Regions from separate parts of the Homo sapiens genome. Here region 2 is linked to region 1. The links are contacts of gene promoters, found by promoter capture Hi-C in human tissues and cell types (Jung and others, 2019). All regions are on one chromosome and are shown on one strand. Each heading gives the region's core, a stretch centred on a gene start or on the middle of the fragment in contact. The rest is flanking DNA. Distances are from core to core; before and after follow the strand shown.

The links. The method cuts DNA at HindIII sites, captures the fragments that hold promoters and counts their contacts. A contact is called where the count stands out against the background at its distance.
Region 2: a contact is called between a fragment that was not itself captured here and the fragment with the promoter of KIAA0408 in region 1, in 2 of the 25 tissues and cell types used here (ovary and pancreas).

The regions. Positions count from the first base shown.
Region 1 is chr6:127,457,506-127,462,137 of GRCh38, forward strand. KIAA0408 reads right to left here and starts at 1,884. Exons shown (of 6, transcript NM_014702.5): 1 at 1,670-1,884. The region is part of intron 7 of SOGA3-KIAA0408 (SOGA3-KIAA0408 readthrough); the gene reads right to left. The HindIII fragment of the contact is 15,174 bases long and covers 1-4,632 here.
Region 2 is chr6:127,226,630-127,231,261 of GRCh38, forward strand. It overlaps LOC124901398 (a long non-coding RNA gene), which reads right to left and starts at 2,386. Exons shown (of 2, transcript XR_007059749.1): 1 at 1-2,386. The HindIII fragment of the contact is 3,413 bases long and covers 481-3,893 here.

The sequences.
Region 1 (4,632 bases), core at 634-3,133:
AAAAATTTATTAGAGCAAATGTAAGAGGACAGAGTGAGCTGCATTACTTAGTCACACACCCCAACTCTAAACCAGCATTGCATAATCCCTTTTAACTTACTTCCCCTTTCCAGGGCTGAAAGCCAGAATTATAAAGAGTTGTGAGTGGGTTGCATAAGTATGGTGATGGGAGGCAAATAGTTCTGCTAGCCTTCCGGCCCTACCAGTAAGCAAAGTTTAAGAGTAACACACAAGTCTCACAAGAAATTATTTTCACCCCCAAATTAGCCTCAGTTTGGTCATGGCAGCAATTCTTTCTCTGAGGGGTGCTCCATTCTTAGGACACCTGGGTCACTACCCTTTCAACCTCCAACTCGCCCATTGAAAACTGGACTGCATCCAAACAAACTAAACAGCGTTCCTTAGGGGCAGCTGCTCCATTGCTACTTCTCTCTTTTTAGATTATTGTTTAGAGTACTTGTTTCTTGCTGTCCTTATTTCCTTTTGCTAAACATATCACTTTTCACATAATTAAAGATTTTTCATTTATAAGAGGTTACATATTCCAATAGAAATGCCACACACAGTAGGTACTGCTAATCTCACAATTCCTAGAAGACTCATTTGGCCTGAAGATGTTTTGCTTCTGCTTAACTTTGATGGATTAGGAATTCCCCAGCTTATAACCTATCAGAGTAATGTACCATTTACCTCCTAAATTCTCTATCCCTTTCTCCAGGCTATTATAATCACTTGAATTATTTCAATGAATTAATAAATCTCATTCCTCTCTATTGTTCACTTGCAATTGAATCTTTCCAAAGACCACCATGATTTGATTTTGTTAGAGTAAAAGGGAAATTTTTTTCATTGCTGTGTATTGCTGATTTAGCACATTCCTCATGCTCCAACAAGGTCAAAGAGACACTACCACATGCAATTCCGAATGAATCAACTTTACCGTTTCATTTAATTATCTTCTTCCTTGTTTTCTTTACAGTTATTTACTCAAATTAGAAAACATCCAAGCTGTATGCACACTGATTTTACTTATAAAATGCAAACTTTAAAAGCAAACATTTGGTTTGAGTAAACAAATGTCTAAAACTAACCATCGTGAACAAAAGACATAGTGGTAAGTTTCCCTCCTAAACGTAGATTATTCAATTATGAATGGCATAGACTTCAGCTCAAATTACAGAAACACTAACTCTACAGTGAGTCCACCACCACCTTAGATAAAACTAAAATTTATTTTTCACCGCAATTTTCAAATACCAAGTCTCCAGGATTGTGACCTTTAATTTGCAAATGTTAAAAGTCTTTATATGAATAAAAAAAATCACATTTGAATAAATATACTTAGTGAAAATCAATGATGGGCAAAGTGCTTTTCAAACAACTGAGAAGCAGTGTTGGAAAAACAGTCTCAAAGAGCGGATGGTACTGTCAGTCCACAGTTGGGAAATCCACCCTGAGCAGCTGAACAGCCTTTTTCCTAGGAGTCAGTACAATCTGTTATGCACCCCGCCCACTGTTTTTAAGCCCAGACACAGACAACAGCAGAGACAGATGTTGAAATTACACTCCACTTAAACAGTATCCATAGTTTAAAACATCTCAACAGCAGCCCCTTTGTATCCTGCCATAATTAGTCACTTGCTTGTAAACTTGCCGGAAAGAAACATACCTTTCACACTGGGGAGAAATCCTATGGATGCTCGACCACTGGTCAATTAGCAGTGGAAGAAAGTGGATGGCTAGCTGTCTTAAAGAGAAAAGTCTCAGCTCGGTGAATCTCGATTCTTTACAAGAAAAGGGGATGCAAAATAAGTCCAACCATTCCACAGAGCAGTACTGACAAGTCCCTTTGAAACCTTCACCACTTTTACAAGTCAAAAAGCTGCTCAGCTTAGTGTCACAGCAGCAGCTGAGACTACTGTGACGTCAGTTACTTGGAGGCGGCCTTCAAGCCACCTCTTCCAACCAGAGCTCTGTAACTTTAGAGCAGCTCATGCTCTGGGTAAACAACTCCAGGTCCAGGACATTTTTAGCTTTTATAATGGAGCCCAGTATTTTCAAACTTGCCAAAAGAGCTGGTTGTTAACATCATACAATGACAATGGCCAATTTTAGATTTATTTTATTAGGAAAGTAAACTCATTTTTTTATAGGCAAGAATTATCTCCCTCCTTCCATAATTCTTTCTCCTTCTCAGCTGGTGGCAGGATGTACTCTGCTGCACCTTTAGAAGTTTGCATCTGGATGTGGCAGAACAATATGTGTAGCATAATTATATATATTATGCACTCTCAAAAGATCTGTGAAAGTTATCAAACTTCTATCTTCAAATAAAATAGAAATGGAACATAAAGTCCAACCTCTTAGCTCTCTGTGATTCTGACAGTGTGTTGCTTTTATCTACAGTAGTAGCGATGTCTTTACGTTAGAGAAAATCAGAGCCCATGGGAAAGGATGAGATTTCTTATTGTGGGAGGACAAAACACACACACACACACACCCCAAAAATGAGATACCTATGGGCTTATTTTCCACTAAAGTGTGCTGCAGCCATAGGAAGAGAAAGCAGCCTAAGTGTATGGAAAAGCTCTCTAAATCATGATCAAATCAGCCTGTTCTGAAATGCTAGGAGATCTTGCCTCCCCAGCGACATTTTCAGGTTTATTGTGGCTTTGTACACACATGCATCTGATGATATTTGGTTTAATTTAGTCAAAAAAGTCTCTAGAGCAATTTTTTGCCTAACTTAGCAAATACACAAGTTTAAACAATAAGGTCTTATCTTCAAGTCTGAAGAGCTTCCCTGGTGTGGTCTTTAAAGTAATACATATTCACTCACATTATTTTCACCTGCTTCCAGATAAACATTTCATGAGGAGCTAAAGTTTAGTAATAGTAACCTGCTCACAGTAGGACTTTAATACATGTAGGACAATCAAATGAAACCATACTCTGTGTCTGGAAAGCCTGACATCATAATCTCAACAGCAATAACAACAATAACAGTGATAGTTATAGTAATAATAGTGATTATTCACTGAGGGGCAACCCTCTGCAAGGTTCTGTGCTAAGTACTTTGAACAGACCTTTATCTGAGTTCACCCTCAGAGCAATTCTGTCTCTAGATACTGATAATCTGATCTTACTGATAAAACCCAAGCAAGGCTCATTGTGGTAAAGCATCATGCAAAAGTTCATAGAAATGCACCCATGTGGAGGAAACGGGTTTGAACTGTTTTGTCTGATTGCAAACCATGGAATTTTGTCATAGAGATCTAAGTTTCAATTCTGCTGCCACCACTTATCTGTGTGATCTTGCAGACCCTGATTCTTCCTTAAAGACATAATTATATTTACTTTAAGAGGCCATAAGAATATGAGGGAATATATATAGCGCCAAGCACACAATAAAGGGTAGCTCATGTCTGCCTCCATGCTTATGAGGCTAGGAAGAAGATTCTTTGAGAGAGGGAAAGGGAGGAGGGAGTTGCACAAAAACATCAATACAGAATTGTCTTAACATTGTTTCTGGCCGGGTGTGGTTGCTCACACCTGTAATCCCAGCACTTCTGGAGGCGGAGGCAGGTGGATCACATGGGGTCAGGAGTTCGAGACAAGCCTGGCCAACATGGTGAAACCCTGTGTCTACTAAAAATAAAAAAATTAGCCGGCTGTGGTGGCTCAGGCCTGTAATCCCAGCTACTAGGGAGGCTGAGGCAGGAGAATTGCTTGAACCCGGGAGGCAGAGGTTGTAGTAAGCAGAGATGGCATTCCTGCACTCCAGCCTGGTTGACAGAGCAAGACTCTGTCTCAGAGAAACAAAACAAAAAACATTGTTTCCTTTACCTTTTCTTCTACTCCAAACTTCTTAACTTCTATGTATCACTTGTAAATCAAACTAAGACTATTTTGTAAATCCTATCGAAAATTCAGATAGTATGTGTCTAAGTTACAAGAGATGTTAGGTTGGACTATACTTCCTAAGTGTCACTCAGTAGTACCCATTTCAATCTCTTTTAATGGCTGTCCCAGTGTGATTGTCCCAGGGCAATCACAAATAATTGCCCTATGTTTTAGAAAGAATTATGTCATTCATACCTGATGACATACTAATTTATTTCAATGTATATCAGATTCAAGTGCTTCATCTGCTTCTTGTCATGGTAAAGCTGATCTTAAATTGTACACAGAATCAAATAATAATGAAAATCTTTGACAAAAAGTTTACTCCAAGTTTACCACTTATTCTAGTATTTACCAACTTTTTCTGTTGAAGTTTATATATATATAATTTATATTATATGTTATTTATATAAAATATATAATTTCCAGGCCATATTTCATACCCAAAAGACAGAAAGTAAGTCAATTAGGTGATACGGTGCAAAGTCAAGAAATGTTCAGCACAGCTTTTGATATTTTCCCTTGAAAACTTTTTGTTTTTTAAGAAAACTTTTAAAAGAAAATTTACCACAATTATATACATAAAATGAATGCATTTAAAAGACTGATGCTGGTATACTCAGCCCTACAGTTACATTCAGACATCTTGAACTGCCTGAGGTTTTCAAGCAGGTGTCAGAATGACTGAAAATCTTATGAAAAAAATGCAATTTGTTTTGTAATGCAGTT
Region 2 (4,632 bases), core at 937-3,436, 230 kb before region 1:
CCAATCACATCAGCAGTAATTCCCCTTCCCAGGCCAAAATAGAATAGTTCAAAGCAAAATAGGTGGTTTGGACAAAGCATTCACTGTGTGGTCAAGCAGAAATCTGCCATATCATTTGCAAAGTGCATGACTTGTTTAAGTCATACTTAATATGAAGTTAGTACTACTTATTTTCTAGAGTTGTTAGGATCATTTAAGAAAAGATATATCATGTAGATAGCACATAAGAGCCATTCAATAAATCATAATAATTATTATTAATATTATTTCAACTATAATATGATGCAAGTAAGGAACTACAATAAAATACAAAAACCCATATATACAGCACATGAATCTGGTTAAATATCTGTGTTCTAGAACTTTAATTTCTAAAACAGATAAAATAATATCCATATGTTCCTCATATGATTATGTATTGTCGTTAAATATGAAGACATGTTACATTATGGTTTTTTAAAAAACTTATTTTTAGAAGTACTGTTTGCTCTCTTGTGGATTTGAATTGACCAGCGTTTGACTTGAAAATTTTCTGTTTGCTTACACATTTTTCATGTACGTGAAGATTTAGAAGATATTATTGTTAATAGAAATAGAATGAATATAAAGGTGAATAGAATTTAACAGTAATAGAATAGATTGAAAAGTAAAATATTTTATGATTCCAATGACTGTTTTTGTGACTAAGCATATTCTTTAGATAACAATTATTTTTAAATGATTCTCCACAACGTAAAACTAATATACTTAAAAATGCAAGTAGTACCACAAAAGAAAGTTCCCAATAAGTTGGTTGTCTTCTAAAACAGAAGAATACTTAAAATACACCATTATATCTATTTTTTTATATTCCCTTACTCTGGCATTTTCTCTTTGCTATATTTCCAGAATTTGGTTGCCAGTTCTGTTTTTCTTCTCTCTCTCTCCAAGTATTCTCAAGACTCTCCATGTAGACCCCACAAGTATAATTAACCTCTCCCTCAGAATTCCTTGTTTTTAAGGGGAGTATGTTGTGTTTTTTTCTTTAAGAACTTTTTTTTTTTTTCCTGAGATGGAGTCTAGCTTGGTCACCCAGGCTGGAGTGCAGTGGTGTGATCTCAGCTCACTGCAACCTCCGCCTCCTGGGTTCAAGCAATTCTCCTGCCTCAGCCTCCCAAGTAGCTGGGATTACAGGTGCCTGCCACCATGCCCAGCTAATTTTTGTATTTTTAAAAGAGACAGGTTTAACCATATTGATCAGGCTGGTCTCGAACTCCTGACCTCCAGTGATCCTCCCACCTCAGCCTTCCAAAGGCACCCAGTCTTCTCTAAGAACTATTTTGGCATTTTAATTTGATGCCTTATTTAAGAGTCATTTGTGTTTATGTCTGTCTCCCATACTTGATTATAAGCTCATGAAAAGAAGAAAACTAACCCCATGTCCCCAAAATACAAACCAGAAAGCTTTATACATAAAAGATATTCAATAAGAAAGGTTAAATTTACTAATGCACACACATAAACCAATCATGCACTTCATTAACCAACCAAACACTGGTAATAATATAAAACAATAGGGCTGGCAAGATGGCCGAACAGGAACAGCTCCGGTCTGCAGCTCCCAGCAGCAAGATCAATGCAGAAGGCGGGTGATTTCTGCATTTCCAACTGAGGTACCTGGCTCATCTCACTGGGACTGGTTAGACAGTGGGTGCAGCCCATGGAGGGCAAGCCGAAGCAGGGTGGGGTATCACCTCACCCAGGAAATGCAAGGGGTAGAAGGACTCCTTCCCCTAGCCAAGGGAAACCATGAGGGACTGTGCCATGAGAAATGGTGCACTCCGACCCAGTTACTACACTTTTCCCATGGTCTTTGCAACCTGCAGACCAGGAGATTCCCTCAGGTGCCTATGCCACCAGGGCCCAGGGCATCAAGCACAAAACTGGACAGCCATTTGGGCAGACACAAAGCTAGCTGCAGAAGTTTTTTTTCCATACCCCAGTGGTGCCTGGAATGCCAGCGAGACAGAACCATTCACTCCCCTGGAAAGGGGGGCTGAAGCCAGAGAGCCAAGTGGTCTAGCTCAGTGGATCCAACCCCTACAGAGCCCAACAAGCTAAGATCCGCTGGCTTGAAATTCTTGCTGCCAGCACAGCAGTCTGGTTGACCTGTAATGCTCGAGCTTGGTAGGGGGAGCGGCAACCACCATTACTGAGGATTGAGTAGGTGATTTTCCCCTCACAGTGTGAACAAAGCCGCCGGGAAGTTCGAACTAGGTGGAGCCCACTGCAGCTAGGCAAAGCCACTGTAGCTAGACTGTCTCCCTAGATTCCTCCCCTCTGGGCAGGGCATTACTGAAAAAAAGGCAGCAGCCCCAGTCAGGGGCTCATAGATAAAACTACCATCTCTCTGGGACAGAGCACCTGGGGGAAGGGGTGGCTGTGGGTGCAGCTTCAGCAGACTTAAAAGTTCCTGCCTGCTAGCTCTGAAGAGAGCAGCAGATCTCCCAGCACAGTGCTTGAGCTCTGCTAAGGGGCAGACTACCTCTTCAAGTGGGTCCCCGACCCCCGTGCCTCCTGACTGGGAGACACCTCTCAGCAGGGGTTGAAAGACACCTCATACGGTAGAGCTCCAGCTGGCATCTGGTGGGTGCCCCTTTGGGACGAAGCTTCCAGATGAAGGAACAGGCAGCAATCTTTGCTGTTCTGCAGCCTTCGCTGGTGATACCCAGGCAAACAATGTCTGGAGTTGACCTCCAGCAAACTCCAGCAGACCTGCAGCAGAGGGGCCTGACTGTTAGAAGGAAAATTAACAAACAGAAAGGAATAGGATCAACATCAACAAAAAGGACATCCACACAGAAACCTCATCCGAAGGTCACCAACATCAAAGACCAAAGGTAGATAAATCCACAAAGATAAGGAAAAACCAGTGCAAAAAGGCTAAAAATTCCAAAAACCAGAATGCTTCTTCTCCTCCAAAGGATCACAAATCCTTACCAGCAAGAGAACAAAACTGGATGGAGAATGACTTTGACGAATTGGCAGAAGCAAGCTTCAGAAGGTAGGTAATAACAAACTCCTCAGAGCTAAAGGAGCATATTTTAACCCAATGCAAGGAAGCTAAGAACCTTGAAAAAAGGCTAAGGAAATTGCTAACTAGAATAACCAGTTTAGAGAAGAACATAAATGACCTGATGGAGCTGAAAAACACAGCATGAGAACTTTATGAAGCATACACAAGTATCAATGGCCGAATCGATCAAGCGAAAGAAAGGATATCAGAGATTGAAGATCAACTTAATGAAATAAAGCATGAAGACAAGATTAGATAAAAAAGAATGAAAAGGAACTAACAAAGCCTCCAAGAAATATGGCACTATGTAAAAAGACCAAATCTACGTTTGATTGGTGTACCTGTAAGTGATGGGGAGAATGGAACCAAGTTGGAAAACACTCTTCAGGATATTATCCAGGAGAACGTCCCCAGCCTAGCAAGACAGGCCAACATTCAAATTCAGGAAATACAGGGAACACCACAAAGATGCTCCTTGAGAAGAGAAACTCCAAGACACATAATTGTCAGATTCAGCAAGGTTGAAAAGAAGGAAAAAATGTTAAGAACAGCCAGAGAGAATGGTCGGGTTACCCACAAAGGGAAGCCCATCAGACTAACAGCAAATCTCTCTGCAGAAACCCCACAAACCAGAAGACAGTGGGGAACAATATCCAACACTCTTAAAGAAAAGAATTTTCAACCTGGAATTTCATGTCCAGCTAAAATAAGCTTTATAAGCAAAAGAGCAATAAAATTCTTTGCAGACCAACAAATGCTGAGAGATTTTGTCAACACCAGGTCTACCTTACAAGAGCTCCTGAAGGAAGTACTAAATATGGGAAGTAACAACTGGTACCAGCCACTGCAAAAATATACCAAATTGTAGAGATCATCGACACTACAAAGAAACTGCATCAACTAATGGGCAAAATAACCAGCTAGCATCATAATGACAGGATCAAATTCACACAAAACAATATTAAGCTTAAATGTAAATGGGCTAAATTCCCCCATTAAAAGACACAGACTGGCAAATTGGACAAAGAGTCAAGACCCATCAGTGTGCTGTAGTCAGGAGACCAAGCTCATGTGGAAAGACACACATAGGCTCAAAATAAAGGGATGGAGGAATATTTACCAAGCAAATGGAAAGCAAAAAAAAAAGTAAGCAGGGGTTGCAATCCTAGTCTCTCACAAAATGGACTTTAAACCAACAAAGATCAAAAAAGACAAAGAAAGGCATTGCATAATGGTAAAGGGATCAATGCAACAAGAAGAGCTAACTATTTTAAATATATATGCACCCAATACAGGAGCACCCAGATTCATAAAGCAAGTTCTTAGAGACCCACAAAGAGACAGTGTCTCAGACCACAGTGCAATCAAATTAGAACTCAGGATTAAGAAACTCACTGAAAACCTGACACCTACATGGAAGCTGAACAACCTGCTACTGAACGACTACTGGGTAAATAAGGAAATTAAGGCAGAAATAAATAAGTTCTTTGAAACCAATTAGAAAAAAGACACAACATACGAGAATCTCTGGGACACAGCTAAAGCAGTGTGTAGAGGGAAATTTACAGCATTAAATG